2 separate regions of the Homo sapiens genome follow, and region 1 is linked to region 2. Evidence: promoter capture Hi-C in 16 types of primary human blood cells and fetal thymus (Javierre and others, 2016). All regions are on one chromosome and are shown on one strand. Each heading gives the region's core, a stretch centred on a gene start or on the middle of the fragment in contact. The rest is flanking DNA. Distances are from core to core; before and after follow the strand shown. Region 1 holds the start of GNPDA1 (glucosamine-6-phosphate deaminase 1). Region 2 overlaps KCTD16 (potassium channel tetramerization domain containing 16).

Region 1 (4,527 bases), core at 233-2,732, 2.2 Mb before region 2:
ACCCCTCTAGATGCAGAGAAGAGAAATTAATTCATTACATAAAATGAATGCCTTAGGGTATCAGGACTTAATTCTGTTAAGAAACCCTGGTGGACAGGGCTGACTTAGGATGTAGCCTAAAAATCAAATTCTTCCTGCCAACCAAGATCCCTTCTGCTCCAGGATTCTGCAGGGACAGGCAGCGACTAAACCAACCCATAAGGGAAGCTGGGTCCTTTGTATGTGGAAGGGGCAGGAAGGTGCTCTCTCAGCACCAGTACCCCAGAGCCCCCGTGAAGTCCCTTGGCTGAGTGAGCCGGTGTACCTGGCCCCTGTTGCCTACTCTCTCCACCCTTATCCACGGCACCCTCTCCATCCAAGAACGCACCAGTGGGGAGCCCCAGGGTGAAGTACTTCTCTGGCCCTGGGTTAAACTGGATGATGCGGTTCCTGATGTATTTAGCCGCCCACTCGCTCGCCTGAGAATAGTGCTCCAGGATGATGAGCTTCATCTTGTCCTGCAGTGGGGGAGAGGGGATGACAGAAAGGAATCAATGGTAAGGGGCAGAGAAAGAGATGGAGGTGGTGGGAGAAGCTTCTCTTACCCAGCAACAATCCCCTTCCCAAGCTGTCTGAGCCAGGAAAAAGGCCTTTCTATTCACAGAGGAGCTAAGAGGCTAGGCCAGTCGTCTCCACCACCCACAGACCACGAGGAGGCGCCACTGGGGGCAGATCTGGGTTCTAATCTCAGCTCCTTCACTTACCACCTGCAGGACCTCGGTCAAAGGACCTAAGTTCTCTCTGAGCCGTTTCCTCCTATGTAAAAATTGGGACAATAGTACCTACTTCACAGACTTCACGACGGGTAATATGAAATGAGAGAATGCATGTAAACAACTTAGTATTTTCTACGTTGGCTGTTACCATCCAGATAGATGCTCGGCTCAGCCCCGCCTCCCTCATCCCTGCCCCTACCGGAACGGGATACCCTACCCCCTCCCCGCCGTCTACCCCAAGACTCTTCCTCCAGAAGTAGAGAGGTCATGGGATCATGCTGGGCCACTAGAGCAGGTGGGGCAATGAGCTCTGCCTGGGGAGCTGTGTGCTCTCTCTGGACTAGCGGAGGGGTCTTCCTACTGGCCCACCTTGCTTTGCGAACCCCTCTGGGTCTTCAGTTTCCCCCAAAGCACAAAAGGGAAAAGGTAATCGCTCCAGAAGGAGGACATTTTGTTCCCCCAGCACTGCGGTTAGTGGGAGTGTGAAGGAAAGAGGCGAAGGTGGCCCGCGCGGTCGTCGGTGGGGTACAGCGTGTCCCCCACCCCCATTACCACCCCATCGCCCCTCCGATCCCTCCTGGAAAATGTGTGAGGGCGGCTCCCCGGGGTCCCGACCCCGAGTGCCGTAGGGCTGGGGCAGCGCTCCGCGCTCCGGCCCGCGAGGAAGGTCCCCGCCAGCCCTGCTACCCACTTACACGGACGCCTCCCGCGGCGGCTGCAGCGACTGCGCCGGCGGCCCGGCCCCGCGCGGGTCACGTGGCTGCGGGTCACGCGGCGCCGCGTGCGCCGCCCGCCGGGCTGACTCAGCTTGGCCGCAGCTACCCGGACCGACTCTCCCAGGTGGAGGAGTTCCGGCCACTCAGTCCCACCTCGGTCCCTGGCCCCGGCAGGCCCTGGAACAGACCTTAAAAAACACTTTCCCTTGGGAGGCGGGGATTCGAGTCTGGTTTGTGTGTGTGTGTGTGCAAGAGGAGGGAGACTTGAGGGGCGCCGGGTCGCCCCCAGGAATACAACCCCCTGGACCTTGGGGCTGGGGCCGGGGGGTTTTAGTGCAGGGGTTGAGCTGGGGGCAGGCAAAGCAGAATCGCTTCCTCAGTCTCCTAGGGTTGGGCCTGGCTCTGCCTTCAGTTTCTTTCTTTGTTTAGATGCCATTTATTTACCCAAGTATTAAAACTTGTGTTGTTTAAAGTACAATTGGGCTTTTTAATGTCCTTTTTTAAAGATCAAACTTTGCAGCATTATATAATAGAGAAAAAGGCAGGCCCCTGGTTTCCCCAACTCCCCACACCAAGATAACCATTGCTTAGTTTAAGAGTACATTCTGAATTGCTTTCTTTGAATATGCTTACACTGTTATTTTACATAAATGGGAACACATACACATGAGGCTTATATATATCAAGGCTCGGATATTTGACCTGCATTATTTCACTTAATCCTTATTAAGCTCCAGTGAGGTAGGTTTGCCGTTACTTTTTAACAGGTGGAGAAACTGACGCTTGGAGAGAAAAATTAACTTGGCCAGAGGCACAAGTGGTTTCCCTTGTGCCTTCAATTCAGGGGGATCTGTCCAAATCCAAAATCCATGCTTTTTACCGCTAGCGGGCACTGCCTCCCAGCTGGTATGACTGGATTTGGGACGCTTCCATATCAGAAAAAGAGATCCATCTTATTCTTTCCAGTCAACATTAGAGTGTTCCAGACTTCTAGGGACACTTGGGAACTTTCCATGCGGAGGCTGGAGGAAGGACTTGAGTGCTGGTCATCAGTAACATCTTCCATTACATAGGGTTTTGCCAGAGCTTTGTGCGCATTATTTCATAGAATCCCGCCCAATCGTCAGATATGATTACCGCCATTTTATTGATGTGGAAACTGGGGATCAAAGGCGTACAGAGACTTGTGATATATGACCTCATAGTCTGACATCCCGGACTTTAGTCAGTGCTAGGGAGCAGTGGTGAGACCTTCTGAATCAGCCTAGTTTTCCTCCAGCAGCAAAAGGCCAAAGGAATCCTGGCTTTATGCCCACGGGACAGGGCCTTCCTCAGTCAGCCGGGTGGCCACGTTCTGCAATTCTGCTGAATCTGCTCACTGTGGACAGCCCCAGGCGCTCACCCAGCCCTTGGGCCCAACTGCAGCTCCAGACCAGCTTGCTAGGGGTAGGCTTCATCTGGTGAGGCCCTGATGAGACCAGATGGTGGAGCTGATACCTTTACAGTGTGGGGGACTTGCTCTTTGCCTCAGTGTTATTTTGTTTTGTTTTGTTTTGTTTTCCAAATCCTGAGAGGCTGTGAATGGCTCGGTGTTGGTGTAGTTTTTGTTTATTTTTAAATTCAGTCAGAAATCTTTTTTTTTTTTTTTTTGAGATGGAGTCTCGCTCTGTTGCCCAGGCTGGAGTACAGTGGTGTGATCTCTGCTCACTGCAACCTCCGCCTCCCGGGTTCAAGCAGTTCTCCTGCCTCAGCCTCCCGGGTAGCTGGGATTACAGATGCCCACCACCATGCCCAGCTAATTTTTGTACTTTTAATAGAGATGGGGTTTCACCATGCTGGCCAGGCTAGTCGTGAACTCCTGACCTCAGGTGATCTGCCCGCCTTGGCCTCCTAAAGTGCTGGGATTACAGGCATGAGCCACCGCCCCCAGCCAGAAATGTTGTCTCAGCTTGAGGACTGCAGATGTTTCACAATGAAGCTCCAACTCCAATCTCCGATCACGTCTGATAACATGGGCCAGGTCTGCAGCATCTGCATCCAGACCTTTCCAGGAGGAGAGTGACTGACTTCTGGTGACTAAGCCCATTTCCCCTGAGTTACCCCTTCTGCAGGGAACCAGTGCAGGGTCTCTGCGAAGCCTGGAGGCTCTTGGATCAGCGTGGGGACTAATCGGAAAGACCTGCATTTCAATTCTGGTCTGGCTAATTTCTGGTTATTTAGTGAGTAATTCAAGCAAATGACTCAACTTCTCCAGGTCTCAGTTTTCTTACCTGAAACATAAGAATTGAGTGGAAATTAAGTAATACTGCCCTCGTGTGGCTGTTGTGACTATTAAATGAAATATTAGCATAGCATGGCATTCACAGCCAGCTGTTATTACTTACCCCTTATTTCCTCCTAACCCTCCTTACAGCCCACTCTCTAACCATACTGAAATGCTCTCTAGCCCTAACCTCCTGACTCCCTGTACTCCTCCTACTCCACATCTGTGTTTAAACTATTACCCACACCTATCCTCCCATCCTCTTGTCTTGGAACTAAAGTTGCCAAATTAAAAGAATTGTGAGTTTATCCATGCAATGGAACACTCTGCAACTCTTGTATGGTCAGATATTTTTATACCTTCTAATGCACCCTTGCTTTGGGCAAACAACCTGACCAGATGTTACCTCCCAAATTCTGCTCAATTCATAGAGTTTGTGTGGTGCTGGCCCTACCCTTTGACTTAGGAGCAAACCAATTAGAGACTCCATGGCTCTGGCCATGATTAGTTCAAGGCCAGGCAGGCATGGAAGACACTAACCCAGCAGCCATTCAGAGACTCCTTCTCCCTTGCTGCTTCCCACTGGAGAAACTGGAAAGTCAACGACTCTCACAGCTTCTCCCACAGCTACGGGGTGGCCAAGTAACTTCATTCTGCCCAATGAGGGAGGAGGATGGCTTCTGGTTAGATATTTTACTTCCTGAGAAAAGTGCTGTGCTTGAGAAACAAACTGGCGGTTTCTGGTTCCTTCCCTTTCCTTCCTGCCTTGAAGGCAGTTGTGATGACTGAAGCT
Region 2 (4,648 bases), core at 1,940-4,439:
TTTACACTAGCATCTAAAGTCTACAGTTATGTAAGAAAGAAATATGTAAATATGAAGTATATTCTACGAAGTTTGTGCTAGATCTCATTTTTTTTAAAAAAAAAAAGAAAAAAAAAAAAACTAATGGCTTATTGTCCCTGTTCAGAGCCTAAGGGAATTGGTTTAAAGTTTAAATAAAAAATTGTACATGCTGCCAGTCAGAACTATTCATCATCATAAGCATTGCATTTATTTTATTTATATGTGCTTTAACAATATTCTAGATTTGTAGTTTTAAAAAATAGCTGAAAAGTCTGTCTCAAAGCTCTCTCACCTCTTAAAAGAAAGCAGAAGGACTTTAAAAAACCAGTTTGTTTAAACAAGGCCAAACTGTTTTCCAGGTATCCACATTTTCTCCTCAACACATGCCCAATCCAAAGACAGAGCATCAAGGGCAATATACTCTATGTATGTTAAAGTTTTAATATTACCAAACTGATCAAGGTAAAGGATTATTAACTTTTTTAACCACTAGAAATGTAACATTAGCTGTGTAGCTTTTCTGGCCTCAGTTTTCTCAGCTGAATAATGAAGACAAAAAGAAACTGGAATAGGGATGTATTGATCCATCTATTCATTCAGTAACTCTTTATTCAACACCTATTATGTGTCAGGTTCTGTGCCAGGTGCTGGGGATGGGATATAATAATGAACAAAAATAATAATGATCCCTTCCCTCTCAGCGCTTACAGTGTCACTGGGGGAGAGAAACATGATTCAAATAATCACTCCTCAAATAGTCAAAGAACTCCTTAGGGCTTTTCAGTTCCTAAATTCCATATATACATAAACATAAAAAATAGTTCATAGAACACAAATCTTCTTACATGTTTATTTGAAAGATCTGACAAATCTCATTTATTTCTTAGACTCATTTTTTTTTCCAGATTATTAGCTACAGATATTGCAAACCACTTATAACAATTTTCTGCCTGCCAATGACATAATGCATTGTACTGGCTCATTATTGTAATAGTTGTTACTATGCATATTGAATGCAAATTTCAGGTAATATTTTAGTCTTCATTTTCTATTCATTCCTAGCACTGCCTTTCTATTTCTAACAGGGAGGGATTAAAAAATAACAGAGTCAATAAATTTTAGAGTTTCAAAGGTAAGAGCTGATTTCACACACACACACACACACACATATACACACACACATACACACAGGGGGCAAGAGAGAAAAAATGTTGTTTATTCTTCTAGCTATAACAAAATATCACTTGGGTTCCCCCTTTTCCTCAGATTTTAATTCTATTGATGAAGCATATACAGAGGAAAATATGAAAATGAGTTGTTTTCACTGAATCATTAATGACTTGAGGCTGGCAGTAGGTAGACTTCTTAATTGCTTAATTGTTTATTAAATTTATTCTTTAGCAGTTGATCTCTGGATTTCTTTGTGTACCCCAGAGTCTTGCTGTTAATCAAATATTCTGTAAAATTTTTGCTTTTGCCTGGAAAAATGATTCTACAAGTTCCAGATGTCTTAGGTTGTGTTAAATGTTTGAGGAAAGAAGGCTATTTATTGGAAACCAGCCAGGATCTTTGTTTAGATTATTTTTGCCAGCAGCTCTTCTACTTCAGGCTGTGATTTCATCAAAAAATATTTGCACAAGCCATTGCTTCAGTAACCACGTCTCCAGCCCCACCGGAAGTGGATGTGGTTAATCTAGTAGACAGCACTCTTCTGTCTGAGCCTAGCTTAGACATAGTAGACTGAAAAATTATGTATCTGGAGTTGTTTTTCACCAGGGTTGGCAAGAGGCTCTGATAATCTGCCATCATTATAGGTTTCTTGCTTCTTATCACAACAGCAAGGCTTCTTTGATGGGGTTGAGTCTAGGCAAATGTTTTGGTTGGTAATTAATTGTCCATATCTTACATTTCATCTGGATTTTTCTGTTAATGTGATCCTTCTATGTGTATTGTCCTTTGGTACTTACAAAAAGCTAATAGATATTAGCTTTGTACCTCTTCCAGATTTACTGTTATTTAGCAGTAGGGAATCATTAAGGCCGCATTCTCATCCTAGATCTGTTTTCTTATGTCTGTCAAGAGAAAGTACATGAGAAAATAGTCAAAGTTAGTTTTAAGAATGCATTTCCTGATGGAGTTTAGAATGATACATCTGGTGGTAAGCTTTCTCATCCTAACTCTTTTCTTTAACCCACAAAGGGTGCTTAACCAAAAGTGGCTAGGCTGATGGTTAGTAGGTAGGACATTTCAACCTCTGGCAAATTTGTCATTGAGCAGCATCAGTAAAAAGGTGGAAGATTCTCCACTATCCTCAAAACTTTTTCAATGACTATAAATCAAATGTAATAAAGAGGCATCTAACCAAAATAAAATTTAAGCTGTTGTGCCTAAGGTGATCCAAATATACATGAAGAGAAATGTATCAACAGATAAATAACTTGAGTTATGAAATAGGGGTTTGGAGTGGAAAAGAGTCAGGTGAGAGGTCAGCTTGAAAACACCAAATGGGGCATTGTAATATTCCTAATCAAATACTCACCTCCCCTCCCCTGCCACAAAAAGTTGAGAATCAATACTGAGTGAACAGCTTCTTTGAAAAGTGAATCTTTCTACAAAGAAGTTCCAAAAGAGAGATAAAAGATCAACTATACACAACATAATCAAAAGCAAGCCCTGTTGTCATGGTAAGGCCTTATATTCATGTGTAGGGTGTCTAAGTAGCACCAGTAATTTGCAAACACATTGATAAAGGCAATAAATAACAATGATATCAAAGGATGCACTTAGACATTTTGGACCCTCTAAGATATGCCAGGCTCTTTATACTTAAATCTACTGGAGTAGCAGTTCTGAAAGTATTTAACGCACAGCTCTTAACCTACTTGGAGAACATGTACTGTTTTGAAATTTGGATGAACTCTTGGGATCTCTAGAAAATGCAGAGCAGGTCACGCCTGTAATCCCAGGACTTTGGGAGGCCGAGGCGGGCGGATCACGAGGTCAGGAGATTGAGACCATCCTGGCTAACATGGTGAAACCCCGACTCTACTAAAAATACAGTAACAAAATTAGCCGGGTGTGGTGGCGGGCGCCTGTAGTCCCAGCTGCTCGGGAGGCTGAGGCAGGAGAATGGCGTGAACCTGGGAGGCGGAGCTTGCAGTGAGCCTAGATTGCGCCACTGCACTTCAGCCGGGGTGACAGAGTGAGACTCCATCTCAAAAAAAAAAAAAAAGAAAAAAGAAAAAGAAAATGTAGAGCAGGTACATAGAGTTTTGCATACAATTTCAGGGAATTCATGAATTTTGTGAATCCCGTTTGCAGACCTAGGTTAAGAATGGAGGCTTAAAGCAAATCGTGCTAGGTAATAAGGACCTTCACGGAATATAATTTTCCTTTCTGAGTAACTGTTGTCAGCCACCTTGTATCACAATACACATGCCCTTTAGTTTTTTCAGGTGGTTTGCCAGCATTTTTCCTCTTTTCCCTTATATTGGTCATCTCATTTTAATTCACATGGTTGCCATATTCCTTAGCCTTTTATGAAGGTAGTTAAGGTAGACTGCTATATTGTTATTTCCCTTCCTTCTCCACAGTGGCTTTAAAGAGTTTATGTGGCCTCTGTGTCAGAACTACTTATTGCATTCAGGATGAGGCTGACAACCCACAACCTGTGAAGACAGACTGGGGAAATCCACCGGAAAAGGTTTTGGAGGGAACTGCAGATTCGTTGTGAGTAACCAGACCCAGCGAGAGCAATGAATTACATAAGCACAAATGAATATGTCTGCATTTTGATAACCCTTCACCCCACCCGCAGCCAGGCACTTAGTCACTCTTTCCTCTGTGTCTCCTTAACGCTATTATACCTCTATTATAGCTCCTATCACTGCACTGGATTTATTTGTTTACGAGTCTGTCTCTCTTACTAGACTATGAGCAATTCCAAGGCAGAGTCCATGACTTATTTATCTCTGTACCTCAACCCAGTGTCTGGGTTAAGAGTGCAGGCTTTGGAGTCAGAGTGTCTGCACTCAAATCCACGTTCTGTACATTTGCGTAAGATCACTTGGGCTAGCTACTTGACTTATCTGAACCTTGGCTTCTCTCTCCTTCCGTTCTCTCTCTTTCTTACGATGCCTCACTTTCCTTTGTGCCTATAAGTGTCACACTAACAAAGCTTATTGTGAAGAATAAATGAAATAATGCTCAGCATAGTGACAGTCATGTAGTAGTGATTCAGTAATTGGTATCTATTATTATATCTATTAATATTACGATTGATTGTTGAATGAAAATTCCTTTCTTTACTATAGTTCACCTGACTGGAAAAAGCCTTTTTTAGCTTAAACTACTAAAGAACACACTTTTCCCCTACCTCTTTCCTTGTCCCCTCTGTCCCTTTGCTATTAATACCCCTCCCCAGTAACATAGTAATTAATATTCTATTTTATTTTTCTCCACTATATTTATTATCATCTGACATTCTATATGCTTATTCATTTATTGTCTAGAATGTGAGCTCTATGAAGGCAGGAGCTTCAGCTCTTTTGTGTTCATTGTGGAATCCCCATTGCCTATGGCAATGCCTAGCATGTGGAACATACTAAACAAACATTTACTGAATGAA

Evidence for each region. Contacts are between HindIII fragments. The CHiCAGO score rates a contact against its expected background, and 5 or more counts as called.
Region 1: a contact is called between the fragment with the promoter of GNPDA1 here and a fragment that was not itself captured in region 2, in 1 of 17 cell types (activated CD4 T cells). The highest score is 5.0, in activated CD4 T cells.

What each region holds. Positions count from the first base shown.
Region 1 is chr5:142,011,545-142,016,071 of GRCh38, forward strand. GNPDA1 (glucosamine-6-phosphate deaminase 1) reads right to left here and starts at 1,483. Exons shown (of 7, transcript NM_005471.5): 1 at 1,451-1,483; 2 at 368-497. The coding sequence starts at 491. RefSeq lists silencers at 608-667, 1,339-1,608 and a cis regulatory region at 2,750-3,022. The HindIII fragment of the contact is 4,254 bases long and covers 573-4,527 here.
Region 2 is chr5:144,186,258-144,190,905 of GRCh38, forward strand. The region is part of intron 2 of KCTD16 (potassium channel tetramerization domain containing 16); the gene reads left to right. Among named protein-coding and RNA genes, the nearest start is that of KCTD16, 18 kb to the left of the region's middle. The HindIII fragment of the contact is 2,014 bases long and covers 2,183-4,196 here.